Regions from separate parts of the Homo sapiens genome. Here region 2 is linked to region 1. Evidence: promoter capture Hi-C in 16 types of primary human blood cells and fetal thymus (Javierre and others, 2016). All regions are on one chromosome and are shown on one strand. Each heading gives the region's core, a stretch centred on a gene start or on the middle of the fragment in contact. The rest is flanking DNA. Distances are from core to core; before and after follow the strand shown. Region 1 holds the start of PDK3 (pyruvate dehydrogenase kinase 3). Region 2 has its middle 32 kb from the start of SUPT20HL1.

Region 1 (6,604 bases), core at 1,825-4,324:
TGGGTAGAGGCCAGGGATGTAGCTCAACTTCCCACAGTGCACAAGACAGCTCCTACCAAAATTACCTGGCCTGAAATGGCAAGAGTGCTGAGGCTCAGGAACCCCTGCTTTAAAATAAAAGCACAGCTTCTGAAGTAACAACAAGTTTTAGCCTCCACTTTTGAACATAGCAAATAATCTCCTTATTTACTGATGTGCAGTACATCCACATAAGAAAGCCTATTTATCAAGGTTGTAACAAATTGTGTATATCCTGTGTATCTCCTTTCTCTGGTCCCTGTCTAGTTACTCTAGTCAAAATGTACGTCCCATTTGTAAAGTACCCATGGAGAAAGGCATCAAGTTCATAAACTAGCAGCCTGTGGGCCAACTTGATCCATCCATCTATTTTGTTTATGCCAAAGTTCTCTTGAAATATACTGAATTGGTGCCAATCAGCTGCCCCTTTGGAGCTAGCTATATACCAGGAATTTATCACGGTCCTCAACTCGTTGGCTTCATTCACTTATCCACTGCCCACTACCTGGTGCTTTAAGTGCCTGAGTTGGCCCTCTCCTGCAGTTTTCTCTAATCATACAGGGGCATGAAGCCTCTTCACTCCTCCTCTCTCCTCACCTTAAAAATATCCCACACCCATTCTGAATTCTCCAACTCCCACATCAATTGCCAAAATAGAACTGCTATCAAGAGACAGAACTAAGAGAAAAGTAGAAGTAGAGATGGCCTTTTTGCAACAACTCCCGTCTTTTAGTTGTCCTGTCATTAAAGATAGGCTGATTAGCACCTGATTCATCTCTGGGTGTTACAAACTAGCCTTGTCACTTCTAGCAAATTCCACTACAACTATATCTAGCACTTCTGTGCGCTTCCTTATAAGGAAAACCTTAAATTATTATGCTTCTCTCATGACCTTAGTGAATCCCTCCACCCCTCCCAAAATAGGTCAGAAGACTTTTATAGGAAATATCTATCAAAAGATTTGGTAGTTTTCTTTTAGAAAGTTCATGCCTCTTCCTTTGAAATCACAATCGTATAGTGGTGAGCTGTGCTTTTAAAGATCGCCTGATACAATCTACTCATTTTATTAATGAGGAAAATGAACCCCAAGTGAGGTTTGGTCACTTAGTCAAGGCCACATTCTGAGCTAGTGGCAGAGCCAGAATTAGAACATTTGTTTCCAGATACTGGCCTCACAGGTTTTCCATGATAACACTATCCTCCACTGTGGTTTTCCTACTCACATAACATCCTTACCAAAATACCTATTAACACGGGTAGACACTAGCTGCTATGGAAATCAACTAACCAAAATTTTGGCTGGCTATTGGAGCTATCACTTAAACTTTGAGGGTGGAAAGAACTGGGAGTTTCTGGATTCCTTTTGTTCCTTTTATTGTGAATTATCCTGTTTCAGTTTACACTAATGAAAGGCTGATACCTTCAGAATCTTCCCTAAACCATAAAGATGGAAAACTTGCCTATATTTATAGCAATAGCAACATTTTCTAAACTCTAAAGTCAGAAACTGCCTCAAACCTCTACAATTCTCGAGATAGTAAGTAAAACTACCAATAGCTTTTGGGAGTGAAGTTTGAAGATGCAGAAATCAACGTGTCATTGAACTTTGACTTTCATCATCATTCTCTGGCAAATTGGCTTCTAAAATTTTAATTTGGTCTCAACTTTAACCTATTCCTCTCTTCCTATCCTAGCTTTTAAAAAAAAAAAAGTATGGACATCACTTTTTGCATATCAGGTCTTCCTCAAATGTTCTACCTACTCTGCACTTTAGTTTTTATGCCCAACTGACACTATCACTGACACCCTTGACATTTACATAAAATTCATTAAATGAACAGACACCCTACGATTTCCCCTGGAGAGCTTAGAACATCTTTGCTGCTGGATTTGATTTTCCTCCAGGGATGCTGAGTTCCATTCTGATACCTCAATGCATGCGTTTTACTTTTAGGTGTTTCACAACCAGCTCCTTCGTTTTCTGGGGAAACATGATTCAGTTAACAGAAGGTGGTGGAATCTATTCCCATCTCAGCTAGGCCTGAGGCAGGCTGGGAACCCGAATCTTCTTTGGTCCCACCTCAATCCGTGAAAGCCGCCCACCAGCCCACCGGACAGGGAGAATGTGGGTGGGACACCAATGGAGAAGAGAAACGAAAGGTGCTGGCACTAAAGCCAGAGTTGTATTAGACCCTGCTCTGATGCTAGGATCCCAGACGTCCGCTCTTCCCAAGCATCTAAGGCGTCTGCAGGCCAGGCCTCTAACTGATTTAACATAACCTGATGAAGACAACAGTTCGAGTCCTGCCACTCCAGCCACACAGCAACACCTTAGAGCAGAAAAGGAACAAAATGCCATTGCATAATTTATTCAACCTCAAGGTATTTCTAAACAGTTCTTACCCAACCAAAAAAAAAAAATTCTAAAAATAAAAACATTAAAAAGCCACCCACATCTCGTTCTGAAGTTTTAAGGGCTGTGAGGTTTGTGTCAAGCAGATTTGAAGCTAACGACCGCAGGTTTGGGGAGTCTCGCCTGCGATGAGGGTCCTGCAATGAGACGCCGTTTCTGTGTCTCCGGGTAAGTCCCAGGCTGGGTGCGAGGGGGCCAGGCCCTGCCCCTCCGCGCCCCGAAATCCGAGCCCCAGGAGAGCCCCCCGGATATTCCCTAGCCCCGCCTGCGGTTCCCACAGACTTTACCCCGAAGCTGCGGAGATCCGGGGTGGCAGCCCGAATGGCGGCGGCCCCGGGCCCATGGGGACCCTTGGCCCCGTACTCACCGAAGTCCAGGAATTGTTTGATGGAGAGCGGCGACGGCGAAAAGCGCGAGTAGCGCTCGATCTGCTTGGGCACCGGCTGCTTCAGCAGCCACCGGAACAGCCGCATCCTCGCCCGGGCGGCGCACAGACCCGCCTAGACGCCCGGGTGGCCGCAAGGGCTGGCGCAGCCAAGCCGCACGGATAGGGCACGTTTGCGAAGCGCGCACCCCGGCCTCGATCTCGGCCTCGGCGCCGCCGGTGCAGCCGCCGCAGCAGCAGCAGCAGCTCCAGGACAGCGGCGGGCCGCCCGCGGCTTCCCTAGGCTCCGCCTCGCTGGGCGGAGTCGGTTGCTGCACGTACGCGGCGCGCGAGGGGAGGCGAGGAGCGCGAGGGGCACGCGGCCGCGCGCGCCCTCCACTGATTGGCCGCCGCTGCCTCTGTGACGTTTGTGTTTTGTCCGGGCGCGGCGCCAGAGACCCCCCTCCCTGGCTCATGGGACTCAGCCCAGCCCAGCAAGTGCAGCCGCTTTCAGCTCCGCCTCTGGCTGGGTTCTCCGCTGCCGAAAGGTAGCCGAGGTGCCCGCGGACCGGGAAGAGGCCAGGAGCCCGGAATCCGATCCTCCGCGCTGCTCAAGACCCTTCTCAACCGCAGGCGCCTTTTCCGGGAGGAGGACTTGCCGTTCGCTGCATCCTGACACTTAGATTTTACAGCCTAACTAGACTGACTCTGTTTCGTGGCCCAGCCCCACCCCCACCTCCCTGCCTGACTCCCAAGAGAACACCTTTGGAACACCTTTGGACTGGATTGTTAGTTCGCTGATTCTCTTTTTCGTGGTTCCTTTCCCCTCCTTCCCGCACAAGATTAAGTGACTGATTGCATTTCATGTCCCCCCACCACCACCGTTGGACGGGATCCATTGTGAGGTCAAGGGTCAATAACACCCCCTACCTCCCCAATGCCAGTGGACAGGATAATTGCAAGGTCACTGACTCTGTTTCATACCCCCCCACCCCACTACTACCATTGGAAAGGATCAAATGTAAGGTCACTGGCACTTTCTTTCATACCCCTTCTCTACACCACCACCATAGGACAGCCCCCTTCACGCTTCACCACCACTTTTGGACAGGAGTCTATGCTTACACAGTGTTGGGTATTCTTTATCTCAAGTGAACTTGAGAGCCTGGCATGGTGACATGCACCTATAGTCCCAACGACCCTGCAGGCGGAGGTGGGAGGATCACGTGAGCCCAAAAGTTCAAGATCTGCCTAGGCAACATACCCAGACCCCCCTCTCAAAAAAAAAAAAAAGTGAACTTGAACTCAGGGCTCAGTATATGAAATTGTTATTTCCTATTATGAGTGAATAAAGTACAGCTTACTTTAGCCATTTCCACCAAACCTTGGCTTTTTTTTTTTTTTTGGCAATATGTAAACATAAACATATGTAACTAAAAGGACAGGAAGAATGTTCTTTAAGGAAAGGTACAAATGTGACTGGAAGCCACTCCTTGGGTCTCTGATTGGACTAGTTTTCTCACTGAATGAGATTATTGGTGGGTAGCTATTTAGCTTTTGTGCCTTCAGTGGACGTTTATGCAGCCAATTCTTTGCTTAATAAAATAGTTGCATCTCTACTCTGAATGTAAAGAAAAGTAACATACACAGTAAAAGACCTCGGCCAGGTGCGGTGGCTCACGCCTGTAATCCCAGCACTTTGGGAGGCCGAGGCGGGCGGATCACGAGGTCAGGAAACCGAGACCATCCTGGCTAACGTGGTGAAACCCCAGCTCTACTAAAAGTACGAAAAATTAGCCGGGCGTGGTGGCGGGCCCCTGTAGCCCCAGCTACTCAGGAGGCTGGGGCAGGAGAATGGCATGAACCTGGGAGGCGGAGCTTGCAGTGAGCCGAGATCGTGCCACTGCACTCCAGCCTGGGCGACAGAGCAAGACTCCATCTCAAAAAAAAAGACATCCAGTGGTCTTCTAGACTTTTGGATTTTCAAGAACATCTTGGTCATCTTCATCTTGGTAGAAGTATGTAGACTACCATGTCTTTTCCATTCAAATTAAATCAAAGCATTAAAAAAGACATACTAACAACTTATTTAACCAGGAGCTTTACCAGAAGAGCTAAGTAATCCAGTTGGTGTGCATGGGCAGACAAAGAGAAGACCAGTGGCCTGTGGTTCCTAAAGTGACTTTCAGGTGCTACCTGGAAGTGGAGCGATAATTGGTGGCAGTTGTCAGTGAGCAGGAAGAAGCTGGATGTTTGTGGAGAGGGAGATTTTCTCAGCCTAAGCAACAAAGCGCTGATCTTTCTGAGCTTGCAAATCGCTTGTTTCACTTCTTCCTTTTCCACTGCACAAAATGCTACTTAAAATCCATTCTGTTGATTTGATTATTTAAACTTTCATGTGCCTAATTTTATTTCTGCTTTTCCAAAAGGTGACAAAGTCCTAGAAGTTGGGAACAATATGAAAGAGCCCTATATAATGTAAAATGTGCTTAGACAAGGCTAAGGTCACCTAGCCTGTCTGCGTCACGCTTATTTTTATGTCAGATTAAGATACCTGATTTATCTCCCTGGCATTTGTGACAGTCAAATGAAATAAACCACATGTAATATAAATACAAGGTACTGTACCTCCTGTGTACAGCAATGCATATATTTTTACCTAATACTTTCATGATAACTTGCAGAGGCCAGAAGTGACACCAGTGTGTTGATAAATAGATCTTGATGAACTTTTTTCAACTCCTTGTACACACCAAGGTCTAGTGCAGACCCCACTCCCAGTGGCTTTCAAAAGTGAAATCCCTGGACCTGCGGCAGCAGCATCACCTGAGAACTTGTTAGAAATGCAAACTCCTGGGGCGTCTAATCCTAGCACTTTGGGAGGCAGAGTCGGGCAGGTTGCTTGAGCTCAGGAGTTGGAGACCAGCCTGGGCAACATGGCAAAACTCCGTCTCTACTAAAAATACAAAAATATTAGCAGGGCAAGGTGGTGCGCTCCTATAGTCCCAGTTACTTGGGGGGCTGAGATGGGCGGATAGCTTGAGCTCAGGAAGTGGAGGCTGCAGTGAGCCAAGATTGCACCACAGCACACCAGCCTGGGTGACAAAGTGAGACCCAGTCTCAAAAAAAAAAAAAAAAAAAAAAAAGAGGCCGGGCGCGGTGGCTCACGCGTGTAATCCCAGCACTTTGGGAGTCTGAGGTGGGTGGATCACGAGGTCAGGAGATCGAGACCAGCCTGGCTAACATGGTGAAACCGCATCTCTACTAAAAATACAAAAATTAGCTGGGCGTAGTGGCGCACACCTGTAATTCCAGCTACTCGGGAGGCTGAGGCAGGAGAATCACTTGAACCTGGGAGGCGGGGGTTGCAGTGAGCTGAGATTGCGCCATTGCACTCCAGCCTGGGCCACAGAGCAAGACTCTGTCTCAAAAAAAAAAAAGATTAGGCCAGGTGCGGTAGCTCTTGCCTGTAATCCCAGCACTTTGGGAGGCTGAGGCGGGTGGATCACCTGAGGTCGGGAGTTGGAGACCAGCCTGACCAAAATGGAGAAACCCCATCTCTACTAAAAATACAAAATTAGCAGGGCATAGTGACACATGCCTGTAATCCCAGCTACTCGGGAGGCTGAGGCAGGAGAATTGCTTGAACCTGGGAGGTGGAGGTTACAGTGAGCCGAGATTGCACCATTGCACTCCAGGCTGGGCAACAAGAGCGAAACTCCGTCTTAAAAAAAGAAAAAGAAAAAGAAAAGAAATGCAAACTCTTGGGCCCCACTGCAGCCCTACTGAAGCAGATCTGCGTTTTAGCA
Region 2 (6,604 bases), core at 2,088-4,587, 73 kb after region 1:
CTGCAGTCAGGAATTCGAGACCAGCCTGACCAACATGGAGAAACCCCCGTCCCTACTAAAAATACAAAATTAGCCGGGCGTGGTGGCGCATGCCTGTAATCCCAGCTACTCGGGAGGCTGAGGCAGGAGAATTGCTTGAACCTGGGAGGCAGAGGTTGCGGTGAGCCGAGATCGCGCCATTGCACTCCTGCCTGGGCAACAAGAGTGAAACTCTGTCTCAAAAAAAAAAAAAAAAAAAAAAAGGTTTACAAAGGGTCACTGAGGAAAGATTCATGAAAATACAACTTCTATAGAAAGGACTTAGAATCGCTGCATTTTAGAGATAGAAGAATCCCTTTAGAGGTGGGCTTAAGCTGGGGACCATAGTCCTGCTTTAGGAAAAATGAACTCCTTGAAATTGAACATAAAGAGTAGTGTTGGCACATACCGGCATTTTAATACATAGAGAATCTATCATTTTTATCAGATTATCAAAAGAGTCCGTGGCCTAAAGAAGATTAAGAACTAATGCTTGGGGCCAGGCGTGGTGGCTCATGCCCATAATCCCAGCACTTTGGAAGGCCAAGGTGGGCAGATCACTTAAGGCCAGGAGTTCGAGACCAGCCTGGGCAACATGGTCAGGGGGGAAACCCCCTGACCATGGGGAAACCCCATCTCTACTAAAAATACAAAAATTAGCCGGGCATGGTGGTAGGCACCTGTAATCCCAGCTACTCGGGCAGCTGAGGCAGAATTACTTGAACCCGGGAGGCAGAGGTTGCAGTGAGCCAAGATCGTGCCACTGCACTCCAGCCTGGGCGACAGAGTGAGACTCTGTCTCAAAAAAAAAGAAAGAAAGAATGCTTGAGATCCTAGCCTCATATCCTCTACAAAAATTCTGTCTACAACAGCCTTGACAGATTCAGTTACTCTCAGGTTAAACTTTACTGTTGTAGAGACACCACTACCTTGAGGCAGTTGTTTAATGCTAATTGCTTCTAAGCATTCAGAAGTTTCATACTGCGTTGGACTGTCAATGGAATGTCAACCCACTGGGCTTAGTTCTACTCTCTACCCTACCACAGCCTGGTCCAGACCTTTTCCAAATGTCATCCCTTTGCATCTTTTGTGTTAGCTTGATGTCCTTCCTCCATGTCTCCCCCTTGCCAGACTATACCTACCTAGCACTTACAGCTTTCACTTGCCATGACTTTCAGAGACCTCATTTCCCAGGTACCCTGTCCCCTTTTTATAAGAGACAGTGATTCTTTGAAAACTTGACATACAAAACTGAATGCACTACCCCCAATGACAGCCCCTTCCACCTACAGATTGCCTTATTTGAACTTGTTCAAAACACTCACACTCTTTTCTATTTCTGCCTCTCTCTCTTCTTTAACCAAGAGTCTTTCACCATTTCCAGTTTAAAGAGCATTCTCTTTAATAAACAATAAGAAAAAGGGGGAAACAAACTAGGAATTGTACGGTTCTTTCTCGTGGTCTTTTGCTTGTATCACTTCACTCACCCCAAGCAGACCTATTTTCTCCTTATTTTATTTCTGGTCTAAATGTAGCACAAATGATTTTTGTATTGCTGACATTAGACTTTCTGAAAATCTGGGCCATTCTATCTTTTGATTTCCAATCTGATAAACTTTTGACATGATTTGTGTTGATTCTTTACTGATGTCTGGTTTCTGTTTCTATACATATCCCTTCAAAATCAAAGCTATTGAAGAGCTGAAGCCTCGACGGCTTCTTTAGATCCACCCCATTCCTCTCCTCTCCAGCTTCCTCTGTGGTTATATATTATGAACAATTCTTCAGCAATCATTTTCTCTTGCTCATCTCTGGTTTTTGGACTCTCCAGCCATGAGCTCATGACCATATTTTTTTGGTAAATTTTTTGACGTGTTCTTTCCCAAACTCTGTGGACATGCCTGGGGATCCCTTTCTTGGCTATGTCAAATTGTCCTTGTCATTTTCTCCTGTTTCCTGTCACCTCCACCATCACCTCATTGATGATCATTAGCACTGGTATATCAGTTCTCCTCATGGCTTCATCAGCACTGTGAGGTAATGACAGTTAAACAAAAGGGACAGTGACAAATGATCAAGGCTGGTGATGAAACTAGAAAGAAATGGATAGGAAGGACAGTTCAAGAAGGAACTCTACAAATGCTGACTGTCTTACAGTTCTCCTCTTGGGCTTGGCCTGGTGCAATGGTGGCAGGCATGGATTTTTGGAGATCAGATGTGGCTCCAATAGCTAGCAATGCAGTGAACAGAAAATGTGCAAGGCCAGGGTGGGTAGAAGCTAATTCCTGGGCCACCAGCAGCACACATCTTCAGAACCTCATGAACTAGAGGACCTGGACCTCTTACAATCCTTTGGCTGGGATTTTCCCAGAAATCTGGCCAGACTGAAGGCATCAGAACATGCAGCTAAGGGACAGAGGACCACTGCAGACAAGCAGATCCACCTAACATAAGCCCTGTAGGCAGCAGGCAATTTCGTGTGAGAAATCGTCCTTGTTTGTGAAATGAACAATTTCCACTCCCTCTGGCAGACGCTATAGGAGTCCTGCCAGTATCCGCTCAGCACTCACCAGCCTTGTACATGCTGATAGCTTTCTATTGCAAGCATCTGCAACTCTGCCTGGGGCTTTTTCCAGCTGCAGGGGGGTGCTCACCAAATACCCAGGGTATGCCAGAAGTTTCAGGAAGCGGCAATGGCAAAATGCCCCAGCTTCTCACCCCAAGTGGGACAACTCAAGCATGTGTTTGCATGGTCTCTCAGATGTGCCCAGCAGGATCAAACCCCAGTTGCCAACAGTGGTCTGCTGCTGACACCGGTAAGATATCCTTTTTTTTTTTCTTTTTTTTTTTTTTTTTTGAGATGGAGTCTCGTTCTGTCATCCAGGCTGGAGTGCAGTGGTGCGATCTCGGCTCACTGCAACCTCCGCCTCCCGGGGTTCAAGCAATTCTCCTGCCTCAGCCTTCTGAGTAGCTGGTACTACAGGCACACGCCACCATGGCCGGCTAAATTTTGTATTTTTTAGTAGAGACAGGGTTTCACCATGTTGGTCAGGCTGGTCTCAAACTCCTGACCTCGTGATCCACCCGCCTCGGCCTCCCAAAGTGCTGGGATTACAGGCGTGAGCCACCGCGCCCAGCCTGGTAACATATCCTGTACTGACTACCTGCCTTCTCTGCCCTGTCCCTCCAATTCTCACTTCCATACTGGTGCTTCCTGGGATCTCTTCCAAGTAAACTACTTGAACTCAGATCCTAGTCTCAGGCTTTCTAGGGGAATTAGCTGAAGACACTCCCTGATTGTAGTTCTTTAAATTACATCCCTTGCTCCCCTTTCCCTCAGGGCTCACACAATGGCCACTCCAGGGAAATTGTTTTTCTGCACCCTACTTGGGACAAGCCGTCTTGTTTTGTGCCTCCCCAGGAAGGTAGTCATGAAGCGGTTTCCACACTTTTCCATGTCTGTTCACCAGCGCACTGCTGATAACATTAAGCACTACTGGGAACCCTGCCTGTGAGCCAGCCTGACCACTCAACCTCAACACCTTCCTGCCAGTCCCCTAAGGCAGTGATTCTCAGGGCATGGTCCAAGGATCCCCACATCCAAATTACCCAGGGAGCATGTTGAAAATGAAGTTTCCTGAGTCCCACCCACTGAATTACAATTTCTGGAGATGAAGCCCAGGAATCTACATTTTAAACGACTTCCAGGGGATCTTACACAGCCTGAAGTTTGAGATCCACTGTTTGGAAGTTTGGGTGGTCACCAATTAGCAGCACCAATTTGCCCCAGTAAGTTCTTTGCCCAGCCTTGTTCAGCAAAACCCATAATATTCAGTGGACGATAGCAGCTGCTTCATTCAAATGGCGCCACCCTTTTCCTGTTTCTGAGTGGCCTTCCCTGAAATTCTGTATGTTTTTCCTGCCCGCGTGGACTTTTGACACTGCTTTGCTCATGGTGCCTGGAGGTTTAGGTTCCCTGGGGTGGAATTTAGCCAATGACCAGCAGGTGTGAGCATCTCAAAGTCCAGCTGCCTTGTTTGGATTTGTGGTACACTAAAGGGGTGTAACTTACCCCCAAGAGCTCCCCTGTGGGATCGGGCTGGGGCAGTGACTTCACTTAAGATCATCTATTTGTAATTAAAAAAAAAAAAAAACCTAATGCTAAATGACGAGTTAATGGGTGCAGCACACCAGCATGGCACATGTATACATATGTAACTAACCTGCACATTGTGCACATGTACCCTAAAACTTAAAGTATAATAATAATAATAAAAATTTTAAAAAAAAGATAATCTATTTGCTTAGCTCCCTCCCCTTCTCTGTCCTGTCCTCCATTCCCTCCCTGCCTCCCCTGGGAGCATGTCCTTAATAAATCACTTGCTTGTGAATCCTCATCTGAAGGTCTACTTCTGGGGACATTTACCTAAGAACCTATTTTCCTTACTTTTTCCTGACTTTTGCTACATAAGTGAACTTGAGAGTAGCTAATTACACCATAAATAACAGTTCTACTCAGTATCAAATTGATCACAAGGAGTTTAAGTTATATTTAAAGAAGGTGCCTGGATGGATGTAGGTTATGAAAGCTAATGCCCTTTTTCCTACTCTACCGTTTCCTCTCCCCCTTCAATGACAGCTAATATTTAATTAGCACTTATGTATTCCAGGCACTGTTCTAAGCACTCTCACATATGTCATTTAATGCTCATGGCAACCCTATAATATTGGCACATTTATCATTTCATTTTATCATGAGGAAACTGAGCATATAGATAGCAAGTGACTTGCCCAAGGTCACACAACCAGTAAGTGGCAGAGCCAGCAATCAATCCAGGCAGTCTGGTTCTGATGTCTGGGGCCAAGGTGGATTTCTCCCTTCTTGGAGATGCATTGTATTTATCTGTTTGGCATAACTTTGATATTATGGCATTTGACATAACTTTGACATTATGATGTTTGGCATAACTTTGAAATTATGGCATTTGGCATAACTGTGACATTATGGCGTATCTTGTTTACCACGCACTTCATGTGACCGTATCTTGTCTCACCCCAGACATAGTAAGCCCTTTGGGAGTGGATCCAACTTTTCATACCACTTGTAGCTTCTCCCTAGGACAGAATGTGCTCTGTATGTACCTGTATATTGATTGATCATATTCTTCACCAATTTCCTCCTGCCCTGTCCTTGGTCCTTTAATCACCTCCTTTGACTACAGGCCCAGACTTCCTCTTCTTCCTCCTCGTTCACCACCATCACAGACAATGACCAGCAGGTTGTCTAAATCTCAGATACTATACGATCAACTTGTGTGTACACAGGCCCAATATCATGCATATTAGTAAAATGTAAACCTATGTAAACCCTCTAGTCCTCTTCCCAAATTAAGATATATTTTGCATACTTTTCTGTGTTGTCCAATTTGGTAGCCACTAACCACATGTGGCTATTTAAGTTTATATTTATCAAAATTAAATTAAATTAAAAATTCAGTTCCTCAGTCCCACTAGCCACATTTCAAGTGCTCAATATTCACTGATTACCATAGGGGACAGCAGAGACACAGAACATGTCCATCACTGCAGAAAGTCCTCAGACAGTGTGACTTCGGAGGCTGGCATAGATGATTTTTCTCTTGAAGACTAAAAGTTATTTCTTTCTTTCCAGCTTCTATAGACTCCTATACACTACTACTAAAATCACATTCATGTCTGTCCTAATATACAAGAATGCTGGCCGGGCACAGTGGCTCACACCTGTAATCTCAGCACTTTGGGAGGCCGAGGTGGGCAGATCACCTGAAGCCAGGAGTTCAAGACCAGCCTGGCCAACATGGCAAAATCCTGTCTCTACTAAAAATACAAAAAATTAGCCAGGCGTGGTGACACACACCTGTAATCCCAGCTACTTGGGAGGCTGAGGCACAGGAATCGCTTGAACCCAGGAGGCAGAGGTTGCAGTGAGCCTAGATTGCGCCACTGCAATCCAGCCTGGGCAACAGAGTAAGAGTCTGTCTCAAAAATAAAATAAAGAATGCTAATATGCTGCCTAGGATGTGGGCTGGAGGACAGAGATGAAGGTAATCTCTTCCCCAACCTCACTGGGTTTCAGAGAATATTGGAAACTCCTGGAGTTTTGCTGGCTGCGTCCTTGCTTCTTCATTTAGGGAAACTTTCTGGATCATCAAGCACAACCCACCTCCCCTGAGCTCCCAGTCCTCAGAGGACATGGGAATGTGAAGGCTTTTAACACAAAACTACACAACACACGTTTTCCCTATCAATGTCAAAAACTCTGGTTAAAAACAAAATGGGACAACTCATTAATAAAAAATCAAATCACTTGATCAAAAAATGGGTAAATAACTTAAATAGACATTTATCTAAAGCTGAAATATAAATGGCCAAGCATAAGACGCTCAACATCATACATGATCAAAGACATGCAAATCAAAACCACGATGTGATATCGCCTCACACCCATTAGAGATGGCCATTATAAAAAAAATTTTAAAAAAAAACAGAAAATAGCAAGTGTGGGTGAGGATGTGGAGAAATTAAAACCCTTGTGCACTGTTGATGG

What was found. The method cuts DNA at HindIII sites, captures the fragments that hold promoters and counts their contacts. A CHiCAGO score of 5 or more calls a contact.
Region 2: a fragment that was not itself captured here is called in contact with the fragment with the promoter of PDK3 in region 1 in 1 of 17 cell types (naive CD4 T cells); the score reaches 5.7 in naive CD4 T cells.

The regions. Positions count from the first base shown.
Region 1 is chrX:24,461,756-24,468,359 of GRCh38, reverse strand. PDK3 (pyruvate dehydrogenase kinase 3) reads right to left here and starts at 3,074. Exons shown (of 11, transcript NM_005391.5): 1 at 2,799-3,074. The coding sequence starts at 2,904. RefSeq lists a silencer at 3,014-3,333. The HindIII fragment of the contact is 17,643 bases long and covers 1-6,604 here.
Region 2 is chrX:24,388,943-24,395,546 of GRCh38, reverse strand. No RefSeq gene overlaps it. Among named protein-coding and RNA genes, the nearest start is that of SUPT20HL1, 32 kb to the right of the region's middle. The HindIII fragment of the contact is 8,185 bases long and covers 1-6,604 here.